2 separate regions of the Homo sapiens genome follow, and region 1 is linked to region 2. Evidence: promoter capture Hi-C in 16 types of primary human blood cells and fetal thymus (Javierre and others, 2016). All regions are on one chromosome and are shown on one strand. Each heading gives the region's core, a stretch centred on a gene start or on the middle of the fragment in contact. The rest is flanking DNA. Distances are from core to core; before and after follow the strand shown.

What was found. Contacts are between HindIII fragments. The CHiCAGO score rates a contact against its expected background, and 5 or more counts as called.
Region 1: a fragment that was not itself captured here is called in contact with the fragment with the promoter of BRSK1 in region 2 in 1 of 17 cell types (total CD8 T cells); the score reaches 5.1 in total CD8 T cells.

The regions. Positions count from the first base shown.
Region 1 is chr19:54,207,896-54,211,140 of GRCh38, forward strand. No RefSeq gene overlaps it. Among named protein-coding and RNA genes, the nearest start is that of RPS9, 8.7 kb to the left of the region's middle. RefSeq lists silencers at 57-240, 687-862 and a cis regulatory region at 626-886. The HindIII fragment of the contact is 3,581 bases long and covers 206-3,245 here.
Region 2 is chr19:55,279,963-55,286,057 of GRCh38, forward strand. BRSK1 (BR serine/threonine kinase 1) reads left to right here and starts at 4,035. Exons shown (of 19, transcript NM_032430.2): 1 at 4,035-4,616. The coding sequence starts at 4,481. HSPBP1 (HSPA (Hsp70) binding protein 1) reads right to left here and starts at 148. Exons shown (of 8, transcript NM_012267.5): 1 at 73-148. RefSeq lists an enhancer at 21-160 and a silencer at 281-510. The HindIII fragment of the contact is 8,428 bases long and covers 3,329-6,095 here.

The DNA.
Region 1 (3,245 bases), core at 746-3,245, 1.1 Mb before region 2:
GGTGGGAGGGAGCCGGTCATTGCTAGGCAGGGCAGGCGCCGAGTGGAGGTGGGGGCCTTCCCTGCCTGCTGGCCCTGGGACCCTGACCCCGCCAGGCAAGAGACAGGTGGGACGGGAGCTGACCAGAGGCTGACGGGTTGCTGGGGAAGGTGAACTGTTGGTGATTGTTGGGGAACACTTCACAGAATTTGCTTGCTAGTTTCAAAGCTTGTGATGCAGTTGATGTTGGGCAAGTTCCCAGTTTTGTCTTCACATGTAGGGGAAGTGGGTTAGCGTAGGAGAAGGGGCGTTGAGGGAAGTCTGTTCCTCCTCTCCGCGTTCAGTGCTTCTGTGGACTCACGGTCAAGAGGTTGGCAGGCTTCCCTTTTCTCAGCCTTGTTGATCATCTGTGTTGGGAAGGGGTTTGGTTTCTGAGGAAGTGAGAAACCTGAAATTGTGCAACCCCCTCAGGCTGCAGGCTGTAGTTGATTGGGTCCTTATCTGGAGGCCTTCAGGGTTTGAGGTCAGGGCAGGGACAGTTCTGGAACACAGCTAAGTTACTGTAAACCACGTGGAGAAGTCCATTGCGGCTTACTCAAGCTAGGTGGTTGGCCCTTCCTTCCCTCAGCGTTGCTACTTGGGAAATGACGGTGGTCTTGTGTCCATGGGGCCAGCTGCTGCACCATCTGGGCTCACTGTGGTCTCCTTCCTTGGAGCGTGGGGTCTGGGCTAGTGGATGGCCGGGGCAGCGTACTCACTGGGCTCCTGGGAGCTCCCCTGGGAGGAAGAGACTGCAGTTGTCTCTGGTCTGAGAGGTGGTGGCTCACCTGGGTGTAGCTCACAATTGCGGAGCTCCACGGCAGCCTGGAGGGAGGGGAGAGTGGGAGTTGAGGTATGCGGTTCTGGGGAGAAGCCTACGGGCTTGGAAAGGAAAAGGGTCTTCAGGGCTCTGTCTACAGAGGCAGCGAGCGGGGCAACAGAGGGAGACTCCATCTCAAGAATTTGTAGAGATGGAGTCTCAATGTGTTGCCCCGGCTGATCTAAAACCCTTGGCCTCAAGCAATCCACTCGCCTCCCAAAGCGCTAGGATGACAGGTGTGAGCCACAGTGCCTGGCCTGCGTGGGTCTGTTTAATCTCCGGGCCTCTTGCTCTCCCTTTCTTGGTGATCTCCTTGGACCACATCCCTGTATCATTCTCTCTCTCGACCCTGAGCCCAGGGTCCAGAGCAGAGAACGGGATGGGGTCTGGGTAGGGGCCCCTCACTTGCAACCAGGATGTTGGGTGGGGGCGACGGGGGACCGACCTTGGGCAGGAGGCATTGTGTCCACCGCAGCATCTGTGCTGGCCCCCAGGGGGGTGGCTCGCATGGCCCAGGGGGACGTCCAGGAGGTGCTGCCCATCTAGGCGCTGGCGGGCTGGGAGCCCCTTGTCCTGGTCAATGCAGAGCTGTCAAAACCGGCCTCTGAGTGATGCTGAGGGGTCAGGCTGTCTCCAGAGAGCACCGGCGATCCCGGCTGTGCTGAGAGGGAGGGCTGAGGGCTGCCTGGACGCCCCTGAGATGAGGCGACTGGTATTTAGGGGATGCGTACTCTCTGGGGCCCGCTGGGGCCTGCAGGGAGAGCTCTCACCGGTCTCAACTCCATGCCTTCTGCCTTGTGCTTCTGGCCCAAGAGGTCGGGGTCACTGACCACCCCGTGTCCACCTAAGGCTTCCCTGGACACACAGCAGGGAGATGGGCAATGAGGGTGGGGGTTGTGGCCCTGCCTGTCACGGTCCCCAGCAGTGCAGATGAATTAGACCATTGAGCCACAGAGCCTGGAGGGCAGATGGGTGTGCTGGTATAAGGAGCCCCGGGCTCTGTGTTACAGGTCATGTGTTCTCACCAGTGGCCTTGCAGGAGGGGAACAGCCCCTTCCCCAGGGCCTCGCTCTGCTCCCCCTGAAGGATGGGGCTGAGGGGACAGCAGGCTCTGGGGGCCTTTCAGACCACATTTGAGTCAAAATTTGACTTCCCCATACTCTGCCTGCTTCCACCTCACCCAACTCTCATCCAGGGGTGACCCTTGTTCTAGCACATGAGGCTGAGGCCAGAGAGGGCAGGGCCTTAGGACACAGCCCAGTCACTGTTCTAATTCTAGAGGCAAGCCCCTTCCATGTCCTGAGCTCTGTAATGCATCTTTTCTTTCATGAGCCTTGCGATCAGGCGATGTTTATTCAGTGGTTACCACATCCAGGCATGCTGCCAGGAGGAGGGGAGTCGTGGGTGAAGCTGATAGGATTCCTGCTGGACTCACAGAGCCTGGGTTAATGACACATTACCCATGTTTAGATAGGAGGTAATTCTGCTCCGGTTTCGACAAGTTGTAGGAAAGGAGGAAAACATGCTCATAGCAGGTGAGCAGCGTACACCTGTCATGGGAGTGAGGGGTCCTTCTGGGGGATGGAGAGACCAAGACGTGAACAGTGAGTGTGGCACGCAGAGTGTCCTCCACCAGAAACAGTGTGGGCTGTTCTCAGACCTGAGAGTGAGCCAAAGGAAGCTGGGACCTTGTCATTCAGGGGACTTGTGCACCGTGAAGATTTATTGGATGCTATGTTTAAGAAAATGGAAAATCCGGCCCGGCACGGTGGTTTGCACCTGTAATCCCAGCACTTTGGGAGGCGGAGGTGGGTGGATTATGAGGTCAGGAGTTCGAGACCAGCCTGGCCAACATGGTGAAACCCCGTCTCTACTAAAGACACAAAAAATCAGCCAGGTGTGGTGGTGGACGCCTGTAATCCCAGCTACTCGGGAGGCTGAGGCAGGAGAATCACTTGAACCCGGGAGGTGGAGGTTGCAGTGAGCCGAGATCGCGCCACAGCACTCCAGCCTAGGTGACAGAGTGAGACTCCATCTCAAAAAAAAAAAAAAAAAACCGGGGAATCTTTAGAAAGCACAGTGGAAACAGATGTCTGTTTTTACAAGCCCATCACTGCACAGAATGCAATATGGGAGGGTTTCACTAATGGTTAACCATAACCACACTCCAGCGTGAGCCCAGCCACTAGGCAATGTGCTGATAAGGATTCTAAGTGGTTTATGTGGACTCCTCATGACCTATGACACACATACGTTTACAGTGGAGTGGAACGAGGCAGGAGGGCTTCTCTTTGTCATAGTCTACCAGCTCTGCAGAGGTGTCAGCTACATCCGGATTGGCTCAGGGAGCGGCCGTCAGAAGACTTACACGTGTTTAATAACTGAGGTTGTGTGTGTGTGGCAGGGG
Region 2 (6,095 bases), core at 2,785-5,284:
CCTTTGGTCTCCTTAGCAACAAGTCTTCTCCCTCCTCTCCGAAGAGGGGCGCCGGAATAAGGCGGATCTCACCTCCCCGGGTCCTCAAGCCGCCGCTGCTCCTACAGACAAAGTCGTCCGCACCTGACTCTGCTGGGCGCCGCCATCTTAACCGGAAATACGCACGGTTTCACCCGGAAGTGCCAGGCGTACCCACCCAACTTCGTGCCGTGGTTGCGGCTGAAGCTGCTTGCCCGACTCTTATCCCCTTCTCACCTGGCGGGATACTGCACTCGGCCCCGCCCCTCCCATCCGGGCCCCGCCTCCAAGCTGGGACGCCCCTTCGTGCGGGCGCCGCCCCTTCACGCTCAAGTAGCTGGTCAAAGCCCTGCCCCTGGCCCAGTTTTCGCACCTCAGCGAGTCCCGCCCCCGATACTTTTGCAAGCTCCACCCCTCTTCTAACGTGTGCCCCGCCCCCAGGTCTGACCCCGCCCACCCTACGATTCCCGCCCCTGCTCTAGGCCTTTCAGACTCTCCCAGTTGGGCCCCGGCCCCTTTACAGGCCCCTCCCACTCATTGCTGTCAGTCATCCTTAGAAGGTTTGGGACCTCGCCCCAACTAATCTGACTTTCGCCTCCACCGGGGCCACCAACCCCATCTACAGGAGCCCTGGGGTCGCAACCGTAATGGCTGGCCTGTGAGCCTTATGCCCCCCGCAACCCCTCTCTCGGCCTCAGTTTCTCCATCTGTCAAGTGGAGCTGCGGCGTGGATCCCTCTCATCACCCAGCCTCTCCCTCATGGACTCTTCCCCATGTCCTGCCAGGTGGAGAGGAGAGGATTCTTGAGGCCTAGAGCCGGAAAGCAAAGTGCCCCAGAGCCCAGCAAGATTCAGAGCGCCAGAGGAGCCAGCTTGGTGGGGAGGCCCGAGGCCTCTGTGCTCCAGAAGTGGGGTTTAGGCCTGGGCACGTGCTGGTGCGGGCCGATCTGCAGAGGTGTTGGCCCTGGGCTGGGCTTAAAGAAACTCCCGTGTTGATCCTGGATAGGAGGCGTTTTCCTCCAGGAAAAGGTTGTGCTCAACGCAAAACGGGCACACAGTCACAAACGTATCAATCACCTGCTGGGCGTGGTTGTGCAGGGGGATATTTTGGGCAGAAACAGGAAGACCAAACAGATAGGTTGTGTGTGTATGTGTGTGTGTGTGTGTGTGTGTGTGTGTGTGTGGTGTTTCTAGCACTGTGCTGTGAGATGCATCTGGGCCTGTGGATGTGCTATTATATTAGTTTCCTATTGCTGCTGTTAACAAATTACTAAGAATGTGGTGGCTTAAAACAGCACACATTTATTATCTTGCAGTTATGGAGGGCAGAAATCCAAAATGGGTTTCACGGGGCTGAAATCAAACTGTCAGCAGGATTGCATCACTTCTGGAGGCTCTCGGGGAGAATGTTTTTCTTGCCTTTTCCAGCTTCTAGAGGCCACACTCTTTCTTTGACAGGTGGCCCCATCACCCCAAGTTCTGCTTCCACCTTCCCATCTCCATCACTGACTGCTCCTCCTGCCTCCTTCTCACAAATACTCTTGTGATTCCATCGAGCTCACCCAAATAACTGGGATAATCTCCCTATCTCAGTCACATGGGCAAAGTCCCTTCAGCCATGCAAGGTAACTTATGCACAGATCCTGGGAATTAGGACACGGACATCTATGTACAAGTCTATCAGTTTATAATACATGGCCGGGGGCAGTGGCTCAGGTCTATAATCTCAGTACTTTGGGAGGCCAAGGTGGGAGGATCACTTGAACCCAAGAGCTCGAGACCAGCCTGGGCAACATAGTGTGTCCCCAGCCCTACAAAAAAATACAAGAATTAGCCATGTGTGATGGCATCTGCTTATATCACAGCTAGGCAGGAGGCTGAGGCAGGAGGATCACTTGAGCCCAGGAGGTCGAGGCTGCAGGGAACTATGACTGCCCTACTGCACCCCAGCCTAGGCAACAGGGGGAAGACCCTGTCTCAAAAAACAAAACAAAACAAAAAAAAGAGGGTGATCATATAATTTTTCATCTATAGCAAGACATTTGAGAGCAAAAAGGGACTCAATAGTTACAGAACCAGGCCAGGTGTGGTAGCTCACGCCTGTAATCCCAGCACTTTGGGAAGCTGAGGTGGGCAAATCACAAGGTCAGGAGTTTGAGACCAGCCTGACCAACATGGTGAAACCCCATCTCTACTAAAAATACAAAAATTAGCCAGGCATGGTGGCGGGTGCCTATAATCCCAGCTACTCGGGAGGCTGAGGCAGGAGAATCGCTTGAACCCAGGATGTGGAGGTTGTAGTGAGCTGAGATTGTGCCACTGCACTCCAGCCTGGGAGACAGAGCAAGATTCCGTCTCAAAAAAAAAAAAAAAAAAAAAAAAAAAAAAAAAAAAAGGCTACAGAACCAGCCTGGCTAACAGGGTGAAACTCCATCTCTACTAAAAATACAAAAAAAGCCGGACGCCTAAAATTGTACCCTGCTCAACAGGCCCCTCTTAACCCCCTTCCCTGCTGTAGTCACCTCCTCAGCACGGACATGATTATCTAACACACCATACATTTTGCCTATTGACCTTGCTGATCATCTGTTTCATCCACCAGCATGGAAGCTCCACAGGACAGGCCTTTTTGCTGATTTAGGTCACTGCCACGTTCTTACCAACAGGAACAGTGCCTGGCTGAGATTTGGCACTCATTAAAGATGTGTGGACTCAAGGTGTTGAATGGGGGACTGGGAAATCTCACAGGAGCCAATAGGCTCCTGTGTGCACTTTATTTTATTTTATTTTTGTTAGAGACAGGGCCTCACTCTGTTGCTCAGGCTGGAGTGCAGTGGTGCAAACGTAGCTCACTGCAGCCTAGAACTCACTGACTCAAGCCTCAGCCTCCCAAGTAGCTGGGACTACAGGCACATGCCACCATGCCCGGCTAATTTTTAAAAAAATTTTTGTAGGGATGGGGTCTCACTGTGTTGCCCAGGCTGATCTTCCCACCTCTGTCTCCCAAAGTATTGGGATTACAGGCATGAGCCACCTTGCCCAGCCCTGGGTGTGCTTTACAGGGGACTTGAGAATTAAATGGGTGTCTAACACTTGCGGGTACATGACATAGAGGGATCTATGGTTTATGCGGAAAGCTAATGGGGGCAGGCGGGTTACTCACAGGCAGAGCACATGCTTGTGGACCTGCTACAGTGGGGATGTATGGGCTGTACTGGGGTCCACATGAAGATATAAAGGACCCTATGACGAGCACAGAGAATATATGGGGGTCTAAAAACATAACACAGGGAAACTGAGGGGGTTCTGGAAGCTTCTCTGTAAAGAGAATCCAAAATCACTCTGGGCTGTGGGTAGATATGGGGCCTTGACATTGGTGGGGACACAGACTTACCCTTACCCTGAATGGGTGGCCTTAGGGGGCTGGGGAAACAGACATGAATTTTGGGTCAGCAACTCCAAGAATTCTTTCCCCTCTCTGTCTCTGTCTCCCTCCATATGTCCCCACCTCTCCCCAGCACGTGTCCCTCCACCTGTGTGTACCCCCGGCCCTCTCTACAGCTCCATCTGCGCCCCCTCTCCCCCACCTCTCTGGTTGGTCTTCCTCTCTCTGTCTCTCTGAATCTCTGACTCTCTCCATCCCTCTGTCGGCTTCCAGCAGCTTTCTCTCCCTCTCCCTGTCTGTTTTCCCGGCTTGCCATTCCTTCCTTCTCTTCTGTCCCTGTCCATCTCTGCCCTTCCTCCCTCTCTGCCTCAGCCTGTCTCTGGTGGTCTCCATCCCTCTGGCGTCTCTGCCTGTCTCCCGTCTCTGTGTCAGCCAGCATCTCTCTTTGTGTATCTCCATCTCTGCCCCATCTGTTGGGTCCTCTCTCTCTCTCTCCATCCTTCCCTCCATCCTCTCTCCTGCATCCTCCCACCTCCTCTCCATCCCTCCAGCTGGAGGCCCGCCCCCTGCCCCCCCTCGCTCCCCCTCCCCCCTCCGAAAGGGTTAACTTTGGGGAAGGGCCCGGAGTCCCCGGATGGTGATGTCAGCGTGCCGGAGAGAAAGGACGAGGTGGCGGGGGGAGGCGGAGAGGAGGAGGAGGCGGAGGAGAGAGGGCGCGTGGGGGGGCGGGGGGGACCTCGGCCTGCAGCATCCGCCGGCCCGCACCTCAGACCCCCCCGGCGGGGGGAGGCGCAGGAAGCGGGGGGCCGGCCAGAAACGGGCTGGGGAGGGGGGGCCCCGCAGCCCCCCTGGGCCATGCTGACTCCCGGGGCCTGACCCCCCCGGGCCAGCCCCCCCTCCCCCAGCTCCGCGGCCCGCCGACTGGGGGGGGCCAGCCCAGCCCCCTGGGGACCCCCGGAGAGGTGGGGGGCAGCCGGGGGGGCCGGGACGGAGCGGTCGCCGGCCCCCACCGGAGAGACGGGGCGACGGCCGCAGGGGGGGCGGCCGGGGGACCGGTCGGGCCGGGACCAAGGGCACCATGTCGTCCGGGGCCAAGGAGGGAGGTGGGGGCTCTCCCGCCTACCACCTCCCCCACCCCCACCCCCACCCACCCCAGCACGCCCAATATGTGGGCCCCTATCGGCTGGAGAAGACGCTGGGCAAAGGACAGACAGGTGAGCCTAGCAGAAGGGGACACCTGGGGCGGGGGGCAGGGTGGAGGTGGCGGCAGAGGCGGGACTCAGGGTATTCAAATGGCAGGGGCTGGCTGCCCAGACCCCTGGGCCCCTCATAGAGAAGGGACTTGGGATTCAGACTCCTGGGTCCCTGGATGGAGGGGGTGGGGGGCGCAGACTCAGGTCCTGGAGGAGAGGGGCTGGGGGCCTGGACTCCTGGGTCTGAGGGAGGAGGGGCTGGGCACTGGACTCCTAGGTCTGAGGGAGGAGGGCCTGGGGGCCTGGACTCCTGGGTTTCAGGGAGGAGGGCCTGGGGGTCTGGACTCCTGGGTTTCAGGGAGGAGGGGCTGTGCTTGGACTCCGGAGTCTGAGGGAGGAGAGGCTGGTGGCCTGCACTCCTGGGTCTGAAGGAGAAGGGCTTGGGGGCCTGGACTCCAGGGTCTGAGGGAGGAGGGGCTGGGGGTCTGGACTTCTGGGTCTGAGGGAGGAGGGGACTGGGGTCCTGGACTTTTGGGTTTGAGGGAGGAGGGACTGCGGTCCTGGACTTTCAGGTCTGAGGGAGGAGGGCCTGGGGGCCTGGACTCCTGAGTATGAAGGAAGAGGGTCTGGGGTCTGGACTCCTGGGTCTGAGGGAGGAGGGGCAGGGGTGCTGAACTCCTGGGTCTGAAGGAGGAGGGGCTGGGGGCCTGGACTCCTGAGTCTGAGGGAGGAGGGCGGTCGGAACCTTGAGTGTTGGGACAGGGAGTTTGGGGCCCCAGTGCTCCAGTCCCCATAGGGGCAGAGGCTGGAGGGGCTCCAGGGCCAGGGAGGGGATGGAGGCGGCCTGCAGAGTGGGGCCGGGCTGGGACCTGAGGTTCTTGCTGCAGTACAGCTGCAGACCGGGGTGCAGTGCATCCATCCTGGGAAACCTCTTCCCTCCCCACTGTCCTCTGGCCTCCAGTTCTCCAGGCAGCAGGTTGGGGTGACAGGGGCCGTGGGGCCTAAGACATTCTCCCCTTCTCTGGCATGCTGGCTCAGAGTGGGAAACAGGATGGAGGGTGGGAAGGTGGGCTGCAGCAGGCGCGTCTCCTGGAGCGGCTGTGGAAAGGGCGTTCATCCTCTGCTGTTGCTGAACGCTGGCCACCGGCCGCGGCCTCCTTCCTGCCGGATGGATGGTGGGTGGAGGTGACATGGGAGCTGAACGCCCAGAGTCTCTATGAAGCTCAGGGCCAGAGCTGGCAGGAGTGGGGACCGACTGGGCCGTAACTGGGAGCTGAGACCCTAGGGAAAAGGAGAGGGTCAAAGTCCCAGATCCTGAGTGGTAAGAGTGTGAAGGTGTTGCTGACCTGAATTCCTGAGTTACAGGAGAAGAAGGGGTCAGACCTGGACTGGGTCTGAGGGAGGAGGGGCTGGGCCTGGAGTGCTGGGTCTGAGGGAGGAGGAACTGGGGGTCTGGAGTGCTGAGTCTAAGGGAGGAGGGGCTGGGGGTCTGGAGTGCTG